Regions from separate parts of the Homo sapiens genome. Here region 2 is linked to region 1. The links are contacts of gene promoters, found by promoter capture Hi-C in blood cells and fetal thymus (Javierre and others, 2016). All regions are on one chromosome and are shown on one strand. The core of a region is centred on a gene start or on the middle of the fragment in contact, and the rest is flanking DNA. Distances in the headings are between cores, read along the strand shown.

Region 1 (6,090 bases), core at 1,935-4,434:
GGCCGGGCGTGGTGGCTCGTGCCTGTAATCCCAGCACTTTAGGAGGTGGAGGTGGGCAGATCACCTGAGGTCAGAAGTTTGAGACCAGCCTGGCCAACATGGTGAAACCCCGTCTTTACTAAAAATACAAAAAATTAGCTGAGCGTGGTGGCGGGCGCCTGTAATCCCAGCTACTCAGGAGGCTGAGGCAGGAAAATCGCTTGAACCTGGGAGGCAGAGGTTGGAGTGAGCCGAGATTGTGCCATTGCACTCCAGCCTGGTGATAGAGTGAGACTCCATTTCAAAAAAAAAGTAAAAATAAAAATAAATAAATAAAATAGAGTGTCGGGCAGACAGGAGACAAGAGTTCACTGCTATTAGTAGAAGTGATAGGTTTCAAAAGCCATAAAGCCTTTTGTATGGCTTGGACCTAGTAAAGACATTGTTGAAAATGTATCCTAGGAAAAATAATTGTTTAAAAAATTGGGGGAGTGCTGGATGTGGTGGCTCACACCTGTAATCCCAACACTTTGTGGGGCTGGGGCGGGTGAATTTGAGACTGGCCTGAGCAACATAGCAACTCCCCATCGCTACAAATACTTTAAAAATCAGCCAGATGTGATGGCGTGCGCCTGTAGGCCCAGCTACTCGGGAGGCTGAGGTGGGAGGATTGCTTGAGCCCAGTGTGTGGGGGTTGAGGAGGCAGTGAGCTGTGTTCGTGCCACTGCACTCTAACCTGGGTGACAGAGTGAGACTCTGTCTCAAATAATAATAATAATAAAATAAATAAACACATAATTTAAAAAAAAAAAACAAGGAAACAGATGTAAGCACAGAAGGAACTGCAGTGTCCAATTCCAAGCCACTGTTCAGTGCCACCGTATCTGCAGAAGATGCTACCATTGCAAAGTCGTAACTGTGAAGGCTGTAGAGTAGGCTAAGATATGCTCAGTGAAAAGAAGGAAGCAAGCTCTGGGCACTGTGGCTCATGCCTGTAATCCCAGCACTTTGGGAGGCCAAGGCAGGAGAATCACTTGAGGTCAGGAGTTTAAGACCAGCCTGGTCAACATAGTGAAACCCCATCTCTACTAAAAGTACAAAAATTAACCGGGTGGCAGGCGCCTGTAATCCCAGCTACTCAGGGTGCTGAAGTAGGAGAATCGCTTGAGCCTGGGAGGCAGAGGTTGCAGTGAGCCGAGATCACACCACTGCACTGCAGTCTAGGTGACAGAGCAAGTATCTGTCTCAAAAAAAAAAAAGTAAGCAAGCAAAAGCAAACATAGCCCGCTTGCATACACACACACACACACACACACACACACACACACACGGGCACGTCCACACACGTGCTCTGGGGACAAGGATGTGAATGTAATCCATGCATGCTGGTGGGACAGCATGGGTAGCCGATTTCCTGGAGGGCTTAGATGGGGTTTCTTTTTTATGATTTCAGTTATTCTAATCCTGCCTGTGCAACGGGAGATGTTTTAAATTTTCAAATTTTTGTTTAAATGGAGTTTTCTCTTGTTGTTTTGTTTGTTTGTTTGTTTTAAAGATGAGGGAGCTCAAATTCACCTAATTTGTCCACTGGTCTCCAGGTCCCATCAGGGAGGGCACTGTGGACCGGTGATGGGGAGGCTGAACCACATACCTCCAGGGCTCAGATCTGGGGGAGAGCTCTGGGGCACCTGCCCAGCCATGCCTGTCTGTGAGAAACACCCCCTCAGCACCAGTCACAGCGACTGGGCCAGGCATGGGTGCCTGGACTTTGCTGACCGATCAGAAACCCCTAACTCTACAGCCCCAACCCTGAAGGCCACAGTGGCTCTGGGAGGCCTCCAAGGAGGCCACGAGGAGGGTGCCACGTGAGGCCCAGGCAAGCTGGGAGGGAGCTCAGCCCGTGTGAATCTGTTGCTGGAAACCAAATGTGCCCTGAGGCAAAGTTCCTGTTTCCTTCCCCAAATCCGAGTTTCACCCCCTTCACTCTCAGGCTTCCGGGTAGAAAAAAACCTCTCCCTTGTTCCCTCGCCCCACAAACACCCCGGCAGATGGACACCTCCTGGCCCGCCGGCCTCTGTACCCCTCCGAAATGGGAGTACCGCAGCATCCCACAGGAGCAGCCGCGCCCACCTGATGAGCACAGGTGTGTAGAGCAGGGCGGCGATGGGAGTCACGTTGATGCCCATCAGCATTTTGCTGTCGATGTCGGGCAGCCCCATGTTGCCATACTTCACCTCGCGGTAGGTCTCGTCGTAGTGCAGGATCAGCTGCATCTGCAGGAGGCCTGGGGACAGGACAGAGAGCGGCGTGCAGGGAGCAGCCTAGCTTTGGGCGCCACCGAGCAGAAGACGGCATGCAGGCCTCGCAGGGAGCTCCAATCACCGAAGGCATTCCCGCTGACAGCGCCCCTCAGGACAGCGGGGTTCCCGGGCTGCGCCACGCCTTCTGCCAGCCCGCGGCCACTTGGCCAGCTAAGCCCAGACCCCCACCCGCCTTGCTCCGCCGGCCTCCAATTCTGACGGTGGCAGGTCTGTCCGGGAGCCCGGACCCCCGTCCCCCACCCACACCGAGGCTCTGGCTGGGACCCGGGGACGCTGCGCTACTTGACCCCCCAACCCCACCCCCGCCGCGGGGGGCCGTGGCTGCAGCTGCGAGGGCAGCGGAGGGGAAGTGAGAGCGGGCGGGAGGCGGCGGCCCGCGGTTTCTGTTTCCCGGGCCGGGCTGGGAGCGGGCGGGGCGGCCCCGGGTCCCCGAGCGGCACCTACCCAGGTAGACGCCGTAGGTGAGCATGCCCCCGGCGCTGGCAGCCAGCACGTTCTTGAGCACGCCCAGGCGCTTGCGGCGGTAGTAGCGGCGCTCCTCCTCCTCCTCGTTGTAGTTGGGGTACGCGCCCACCAGCTCGTCCAGCTGCGAGCCACGCACGCCGCTCGCACCCGCGATCGCGCCCCGAACCCGTGTCCCCCGGTGCCCGCCGCCCCCCGGCCCGCCCCGCCCCCGCCGGGGGGACCCTGGCCCACAGGGGACGCCCGCGCCTCGCACTCCGGGTCCCCGCTCACCGGGGCCTCGGGCCCGTCCGGGACCCCGAGCAGGTCCTCGTCGCCCTGCGGCCCCGCAGCCCCCGCCATCGGGTAGAGCGGCGGCTCCGCCTCCATGGCCCGAACTACTGCGGACTCGCGGCGGTCGCCCCGGAGTCCCTGCGACCGCCCGGCCACTTCCTCCCGGCGGCCGGGACCTGCCCCCGCCCCGCCCTGTCCCGCCCTGCGGGCCGCCTCCTCCAGGACACGTGTGTGTGTATGTGTGTGTGCGCGCGCGCGCGCGCGTGTGTGCAGGGGCCTGCCTGTGTGTGCCCTCTGGGGTGTGAGTTCGAATCCCCACTCAGCCACCTCCTGGCCCTGTGACTTTAGGAATTAACTCCATTTCTTTGTGCCTCGGTTTCCTCCGTTTCCTCGACGGTAAAACAGAAATACATGGCACTACCCCCGGGGCCATGGCGGAACTATTGAGTTAATGCAAAGCCTTGGAAAAGTGCCAGGGTTGCCTGGCTCCCTTAAGCTCCCCTCAGGGTTGCCTGGGTCGTCCCCAGCCCCACCTCCAAGCCTGCTGTTACAGCTCATCAAAGAGCACTGCAGGGACAGTAGCGTCACCACCTGGACCCCACCTCCCACCACCGGACGCTACAGCCAGAGCCCACCTCCCATGTCCCCATCCTGCTCCAGTTTGGGCTGTGCAAATGGGAGCTTGAGTGGGTCCTGGGAGGTGGAGATTGTGATCCCCACTGAACTACATGGGGGACCCTGCCACAACCATGTAGTGGGGCCCAGAGCCACCTGCCCCCATCCTGCTGGGCACTGGATCCCGGGCTGCAGCGGGAGCCTGTGGTGGGGCCGACACTCCAAAGCACTGGCTACCACCGACCTGGCTGGAGCCACGGGGCCACTTTTGAAAATATCCAGATTCTCTCCCCTGGGTTCCTTCTGGTTTGAATGCTCTTCCTGCTGCGCCTCCCAGGTGGCTTCCTTCCCACTCAGCTCTCAGAACAAGAGACCATCCCTGCAGAGAATGCAGTCCCTTCACTTCCCTTCTGGTTTTCCATGCCCTCCCTGTGCACCCCCCTCCACCCACTGCTCTTTAGGTACATCCTCTCCCAAATGCAGAGGATGGCATTGGGCACCTACTGAGTGATCAATACTTGTGACTGGATGGGTGCATGAGTGACTGGATGACAAACACCTCCCACCCCGCAAGGATTGCTGGGAAGGTGGGGGGAGGCGTGAATCTGCAGTGGCTTCAGGCTTCCAGGAGGTAGAACTTTCTCCAGGTGACGATGCCCAAGTGCAGATGTGGGGAACAGACAGGTGGATTCATGCAGGTGGGTGGCTGGAAGTGGGAGACAGGAAAGGAGCCGAAGAGAGGGCAGGGCCCGAGGCGCAGGGGCAGGGAGGAGGTGGGAGAGTATGGCTATGGCGGGGGCCGTTCTCAGATGGCAGACACCAGCATCATTACACAGTATGATGAGAAAGTGCAATTCTCCTGACTCAGCCTTGTGAGTAGCTGGAATTACAGGCGTGTGCCCCTACACCCAGCTGATTTTTGTATTTTTAGTAGAGATGGGGTTTCACCATATTGGCCCAGGCTGGTCTCGAACTCCTGACCTCAAGTGATGTACCCGCCTTAGCCCCCAAAGTGCTGGGAGTGGGCCCCCCGAGCTTCTCAATTTCCCTGAGGGACCCCAAACTTCTGGGGCCTGGTGCAATCTCTTCCTCCCCTTGTTCCTCTGGGCCTGGGGGTTGTGGCGGTTGCTATGGTTGCCCATCCTGGGCTCTTCCATCACCTGTGCTGTACCACCAATTCCCTGCACTCAATGTCTCCTACTCAAAACACCTGGAGAGGGTCGGGCGCTGTGGCTCACGCCTGCAATCCCAGCACTTTGGCTGGCCAAGGAGGATCACTTGAGCTCAGGAGTTCAAGACCAGCCTCAACAAAGTGAGACAAACCCCCCCCCCCAACCCATCTCTACAAAAAATACAAAAACTAGCCTGGTGTGATGGTGGACACCTGTAGCCCCAGCTACTCAGGAGGCTGAGGTGGGAGAATTGCTTGAGCCCAGGAGGATGAGGCTGCAGTGAGCTGAGATTGTGCCACTGCATTCCAGCGTGGGTGACAGAGTGAGACCTCTCAAACAAACAAACAAACAAAAAACAAAAAAAACAAAAAACAGCCCTGGAGGCACTAAACCCTGACTGATACACCTCCTCTCTCCAGAAAGGATTTTTTTTTTTAGGTGGTTTATGGAGCTGCTCTTGGGGAGCCTGGAGACTATCTAAGAGGCTGATAGGGTGGCCCAGATAAACACACCAGGGTGACCTGCGGGACAGAGATCTGAGCAGGGCCAGCACCTCCACCAACCCATCCAGGTTGCAACAGTGCACAGTCACATCCCCAGGAAGGGGTGGCCAGATCCCCCCGTGCTCACTGTTTGCCAATGCTTTTCTCTATAATAAGCCTTTACTTTCAGTTCTCATTATGAAAATAATCGATGTTCCTTGCAGAAAAGCAAGCAGAAGAGAATAAATATTGCTCTCAACTGGAACTCCCTGAAACAACCTCTTGGAATATTGTTGCCCCGCATTGCACTGACACAGGAGCGTGCTGGGCAGCCCACGTGATTCCCTTCACACCACTTCCCTGGCATGGATGTGATTCCACAATATTTTAAACATTAAAGCCAATGGGGATGATGATCACTGAGTCTGGCTCACAGGATGGTGGGAGGTCCCCAGGTTGGGGTGTGCCAAAGGCTCTGCCCAGTGCCTGGCACAGCAAATGCCCAGGTGGCTGCTGCTTTCCACTGAGACTTGAGGCTCCTGAGAGTTGGTGGCAAAGGGCTCACCCAGAGCTGAAGACTCCAGCCCATTCCTGTGCGAGGGCTCCAGGCACCTTGGAAGCACCGTGGGCCGGGGAGCCAGGCCAGGCTGGTTGTGGATCCCCATGAGTCCTTGTCACTGTGTGGCCCAGCTGGAAAGCATGGTCAATAATGTCTGGGAATTGTGAAAATTGTGTGAAGTGTCTGCACACAGTAGGTGCTCAGTAAAGGTTTGTTGAGTGCGTAAA
Region 2 (6,090 bases), core at 1,496-3,995, 460 kb after region 1:
TCTTGGCGGTGCGTCACAGGTAGGGATATTCCGCGATCCCTCACCTTGACCCCGCTACGAGGACAGCCACCTCTTTCAGGTAAAGAGATCGCAATGGGAAATCATTCTGATAAAAATTCCCCTGTGGAGAATGCAGGCATCGATCCCGTTACCTCTCACATACTAAACGAACGCTCCTCCACTTAAGCTGATTCCCTAGCCCGGCCTAACCTTTGCAGCCGGCGCATATTGTGGCTCACGTCACCACCGGTGTCCCCCGCCGCCCCCGCCCCGCCCGGCCAGCTCGCCACCCTATTGGATCCCTCACGGCTCCGGCTCCACGGCCATGATGGGCTTGGCTCAATTTAGTTTTAAAAAGCATTGGCCACTCGGATTGGTGGTCCGAAGCGTCCGTCAAGCGGAGGACCTGCTGTTGCTACGGCGTAGGGGGTCCCAGCCAGGTTTCTCCCCGTTTCTGATTTGTTTCTCAGGCTCCGGGGTCCTAGAGGTTCCGGATCCGTCAAGTCCATGGGAAAAGAATGCGCCCCTCGCGCTTGACTGACGAGGCTTGCGGGCCAATCGGAATGTAGTCAAAGGAGCCGCTAGGCGATCCAATAGGTAGTAGGGGGCGGGAGAGAGGGGCCAATGAGCCTGGAGCTGGGGGCGGGGGCAGGGCCGCGATTGGCTGAGAGGCGGCCAGAGGGCGGGCGGGGGGGAACTCAAGGCCTGCTTGATACGTCCGCCATTTTGGGCGCTTCGCTGATGGTGTCGGTGAGCGCGTTTCCCGCCTGAGCGCAACTAGCGGCGGGTCGTGGGCACCTCCAGGTAATGGGGGTAGGGGAGGCGCCGGAGCAGGCCGCGGCGCGGGGTGTGCGAGGCGCGCGGGCAGGCGCGGGGCCCCTCCACCTGGCCTCAGCGGCTCAGGGAGGGAACGTCCCGGCCCCTCTCCCCTCCCCCCCCGGAATTCGTCGCTCCGCGGGCCCGGGAGGCGCGGCGCCGAGTCCTTCCCGGCCGCTCCCCGTCCGCTCCTGTTAGCCGGGGGCCCCGCCAGGACGGGCGCCGGGAGCGGGACGCGGTCGGGGCGGCGACTTTGTGCCTCGTTGACGTTCGCGGCCTGGCGCGGCGGGCGGGCGAGGCGCGCCCCTGACCCGGCTCTGGCTCCAGCCTTCCCGCCCGCCGGCCGCGGCCCGCAGTCTCGCCCCCCGCCCGGCCCGCGCCCGGTCTCCGCTCCCGCTGGGCCTCCCGGGGGCCTCGGGGAGCGCGTCAAGTTGAGGCAGCAACTCGCCGTCAAGAGTCGCGAAGACCATTGTTGGACTCTGCTCTTCGGGAAACAAGTTTTGTGGGTTTCTGTTAATTCGCCGCAGAGTCATCGGGATCCACACCAGCCAGTTCCGAGGCTCCCAGTACCCTTCCCAGTGGCTTTTTAACTCCTGTGAGGTGGCTTGTATGTAAACTGTCTCGAATGCCTCCCTGGTGTATTTGAGCCGGGGGTGGGGGGGGTGGGTGGTCCTTCTTGTGGCTTGAAGTCCCTCCCTCTTAAAGAAGCCCATTCACTGTTTACTTGGAGGTGTTTCCTGTTGAGGTCCTGCTGGCTGTGATCACAATTTAGACTTTTTAATTATAGGTGAACGGGATGGGTCTTTGGATGTACCTCCGTGCCCTGACGTTTCAACCGCGTGACTTAATGTCATTTTCCTGGTACTTCACGTTTTCTCTGTGGGGCTTTGGGTCTGTTTTGCTTTTATGGGAGGGGGTGCTTGACAGGCGTTCCCTTTCATCCTCGCAGCACTTGTTGACGGGGTGGTGTCCTTTATTCGTGGGACGTTTACTTTGATTTTGTCCTCAAGGTCATGTTGCAGATAGGCTTCAAGGGGGACAGGGACTCCAGGTTTCCAACCACCGAACTGTGCCTCAAGTAGCAAGTGTATGAGACCCAGTTATGGTGGTGGTTGGGTTTTCCTCACTGTGGAGTGGAGTCAGTGACCACTTTTTAGCTCTGTGACCTTGGGCAAGTTACCCAGCTTCTCTTTTTTTTTCTCTGTAGTATGGGAATAATAATAAGTGTCCCAGCCATAAGTTTGTCAGGATAATTGCCCTAATACATGTAAAACAGCTAGAGCTGTGCCTGGCACATACAGTCACCTCAGTGGCTGATTAGTGGTTAGGCTAGTTAATGGCTATTATTGTTTAATTTAAATTTGATTTTTAAATGTTTAGGTACTATTGGGAAGTCAGATGAGCATTTGAGTCCCGACTCTTGGTGACTGCCTTTAGAAAGCTCTGTGTAAGACTCAGTTGGGCTGAAAAAGTAAAACTATAAGTTATTTTAATTTTTTCAGGACAGGGTTTTTGACCATTCCTTAAATTAGGAACATTTACCGGAGTAATTAATGAGTAGTAGCGCCTCATAATGTTTAAAGAGATGGTTAAATACAGAAAAGCCCATCACAAGCTTAAGTCGGGCTTTGTTCCTCATGTGCTTTTGGATACTAGTTTCTGGGTGACTGCCACCCGAATCAGTAACTAGGGTTTCTTAGTGTAAGTCCTCCTTGTTACTGAAAACTGTAAGGGTGCCGTGGATTGCAGTATTCTTCAGCAAAGATAGTTTGGGAAATAGCTTTTGTCCTGGAGGGATACTTTGGAAGGTATTCTCCACTTCAGCATGTCTGGTCAGGGAGTCTAGAACATTGAACAAAATGCCTGCACTCAGTCAGAAATAAACTCACAATCCTTTACCGCTTGCCCGATACTCTCCTCCATGGTGCTCGAAACCTTGCGTGCACCTTCCCCTGGTATTGTTGTGTTTACTTGGGACTTGGTTTGCTGTATTGGAGATGTGTGTTTTGATGGACTCAGTCTTAAGTAGAGATGAGTATCTTGCTGGTGGAACTTAAGGACAGGAAGAAGATTGTTTTCGGTTTAGAACTCTAGCCTTTGTGTAAAGTATAGCAAAGCAAAGTCAACAAGCAAAAAGTTGTTAGTTTCAATGAACTAATTGAGAATTTGAGAATCAGACCATAGCTGAGCAGAAAATGAATAGAAGTAACATTGACAGGATGAGGTTGCCTAGCTTTTTAAGATAAAGCTTTGGCCGGGCGCAGTGGCTCACGCCTGTAATCCCAGCACTTTGGGAGGCCGAGGCTGGCGGATCACTTAAGGTCAGGAGTTCGAGACCAGGCCAACATGTGAAACCTTGTCTCTATTAAAAATACAAAAATTAGTCGGTCATGGTGGCGTGTGACTGTAATCCCAGTTATTTGGGAGGCTGAGGCAGGAGAATCGCTTAAACCTGGGAGGCGGAGGTTGCAGTGAGCCAAGTCCAGCCTAGGAGACAGAGCGAGACTCAGTCTCAGAAAAAAAAAAAAAAAAAAAAAAGATAGGGCTTTGCACCTATTTGGTAGATTATGTGCTTGTTACAAATAAACATCTCTTTAAAACAAGTGTCACGATCGGTATTTTATTTCTATGACAACTTCCATTGTCTAGTTCTATATTTTCAGTATTTGAGAGGCAGCCTCTGTGTGTGTTTGTGTGTGTGTGTGTTTTGGTCTAAAATTTTACAGTATTTTACTAAATAAGAGTAAATGATAGTGAAAATAAAGCTCTTCTATCTGCTCAACTAAAACTCAGCATTGACTTGGTCCTTAGAAGTTATGGTCTGCACCCCAGTATTGGCTGCTACTTTTTCTAATGTACTGAAAAAAAGATCTGGCCTCTTGGCTTTAAACAGCTTTCATATTTCTTTCCTTTCTTAACTTCAAATGATTGTCTTTTGATTTACTCTAGTTCAAGAGTTCTCAGTTGGGGGTGGTTCCCCCCTCACCCCCCAGGAAACATTTGGCAGTGTCTGGACATATTTTTGCTTGTTACACCTCTGGGAGTGGGCAGTGTGCTTCTGGAGGGTAGAGGCCAAGGATACTGCTAAACATCCTACAGTGTCCAGCATAGCCTCCTCCCTGCCCGCCAGCAAAAGTATCCAGTCCCAAATAGCAACACTGCTGAGGTTGAGAAATCCTGCACTTAGATAGATGTGAGACTGGCCTACATTAGAATAAGCCTGCATTAGAATAATTAGAAATTTTTTAAGACCATGGATGTTGGACTCCACCTCTGGAAATGGTGGGATTGAGAATCTTATTAATTTTTTTTGAGATGAGTCTAGCTCTGTCGCCCAGGCTGGAGTGTGGTGGTGCCATCTCGGCTCACTGCAACCTCTGCCTCCTGGGTTCAAGCAGTTCTCTGCCTCAGCCTCCCTAGTGGCGGGGATTACAGGCACCCGCCACCATGCCCGGCTGTTTTTTGTATTTTTAGTAGAGATGGAGTTTCACATCTTGGCCAGGGTGGTCTTGAACTCCTGACCTCGTGATCTACCCGCCTCGGCCTCCCAAAGTGCTGGGATTACAGGTGTGAGCTACCATGCCCGGCCACGAGAATCTATTTTTTAGAAGCTTCTCAGACAATACTGAAATGCAGCTGAATTTTGGAACCACTGTTTTACACCACAGGTTTAGGGACTGTTTGTGAGTTAAGGGTTCCTTTCGGTGATCTGTGAACTTGGTCTTTGCAGTACCTAGATCCTGCCTTGGAGATTATTTAGTAGTGGGGATTATTTAGATGGTATACTTAACCATTTTTCAGATGCCTGAAGACTGAACTTTAGAAGCATTTGTTAATTGATTTTATAAAATATCTTAGGACTTTTTTTTCTTAACCTCATGAAAATACATTACCATACTGTGCTGAAACTAAGCAAAATTCTTAGATATTTAGAGTTTGCTTCTGTGCTGAATAATCTTACACTACTGTAATTTTTGAGTTAGTATCTTTTGCCCTCCTTTTGTCAGTCAGTGGTCAGGTCTGGTTTTAGATGCCAGCTTCAACTTTTTTTTTTTTTTTTCGGAGACAGTCTCACTATGTCACCCAGGCTGGAGTGCAGTGGCATGATCTTGGCTCACTGCAACCTCCGCCTCCTGGGTTCAAGTGATTCTCCTGCCTTAGCCTCCTGAGTAGCTAGGATTACAGGTGCGTGCCACCACACCTGGCTCATTTTTGTATTTTTAGTAGAGATGGGGTTTCACCATGTGGGCCAGGCTGGTCCCGATCTCCTGACCTCAAGTGATCCGCCCGCCTCGGCCTCCCAAAGTGCTGGGATTACAGGCGTGAGCCACCATGCCTGTTTTTTGTTTTTGTTTTTGTTTTAATAAAGACCTATTCCCAGAGAATTAGCCCTGGATCAGTTTACCAGTTCTGCCCATTGAGGGCACAGATAGGCATACAGTATGCTCAGCCTTTAACACAGTGATCCTGCCCACTGGTAAGTTGGACTCTTCTGTGCCCTAGACTCTGATCCCAGCAGAGAAGTGTTCTTTTCTCCTGGGGAGATGAGATGCAGTGGTAGAGAGAAGGGTAGATCTTTTTTGCTCATATTAAAATTTAGATTATCTAGTTTATGGAATGGAAGAATATTAGGAAAACTATAAATTTTTAGCAGCTAAATGTTAATATCTGAAGTTACAAAAGGTCATGGAGGCATTTTCTTATTCTTCATCCTGAAATTCGGCCTGTGCCTATGTTGAGAACTACCAGTGACCACCATCTACTTCTAATATCCATTTATTTCATCAGCAAATACATTAATTGAGTCCTTACTCTGCTAGGAACTGTATTAGGGATTCACTGATGAACAGGCCCTTAAGGACCTGCAGTCTAGAGGAAGAGGCAAACAAGAGACGACAAAGCTGTTAAGAATTGTACATGGTGTCAATGGGGCCTGGGAGGAAAGAGCTTCTGTTTGCTGGTCAGTTGGTTGATTTGTTTAAACTTTGGGTGGTTGAGATTGCCAGAAGTTTTGCAAAAGAATAAGATAGTTACACTTTGTTACTCATTTATAAGAAATGATTACTTCGACTTGCCTCCTTAGTTTGAGGAGTCTTAAAAAGCAGTGCCATTCTTCCCATACTGAAGCCGTTTTGTAATGACAGATAGCTGTTTATAGCTCCCTACACAACAGTTATCCTTTGACCAAACCTCAGACACTGACTCTCTGGTTCCAGACCCGTCCGAAGCTTGCTGTAGGTTTTTGCAAAATGTTTCCGGCATTCTTGAAATAGA

Evidence for each region. The method cuts DNA at HindIII sites, captures the fragments that hold promoters and counts their contacts. A CHiCAGO score of 5 or more calls a contact.
Region 2: a contact is called between a fragment that was not itself captured here and the fragment with the promoter of UNC93B1 in region 1, in 1 of 17 cell types (total B cells). The highest score is 5.5, in total B cells.

Annotation. Positions count from the first base shown.
Region 1 is chr11:68,000,913-68,007,002 of GRCh38, forward strand. It overlaps UNC93B1 (unc-93B1 regulator of TLR signaling), which reads right to left and starts at 3,185. Exons shown (of 11, transcript NM_030930.4): 1 at 3,036-3,185; 2 at 2,745-2,886; 3 at 2,110-2,263. The coding sequence starts at 3,131. RefSeq lists enhancers at 1,738-1,937, 2,038-2,087, 2,188-2,237, 3,142-3,685, 3,686-4,228 and silencers at 2,538-2,947, 3,008-3,307. The HindIII fragment of the contact is 17,319 bases long and covers 1-6,090 here.
Region 2 is chr11:68,460,024-68,466,113 of GRCh38, forward strand. PPP6R3 (protein phosphatase 6 regulatory subunit 3) reads left to right here and starts at 729. Exons shown (of 24, transcript NM_001164161.2): 1 at 729-804. RefSeq lists silencers at 140-289, 600-969, 980-1,029, 1,080-1,189 and an enhancer at 400-459. The HindIII fragment of the contact is 633 bases long and covers 2,430-3,062 here.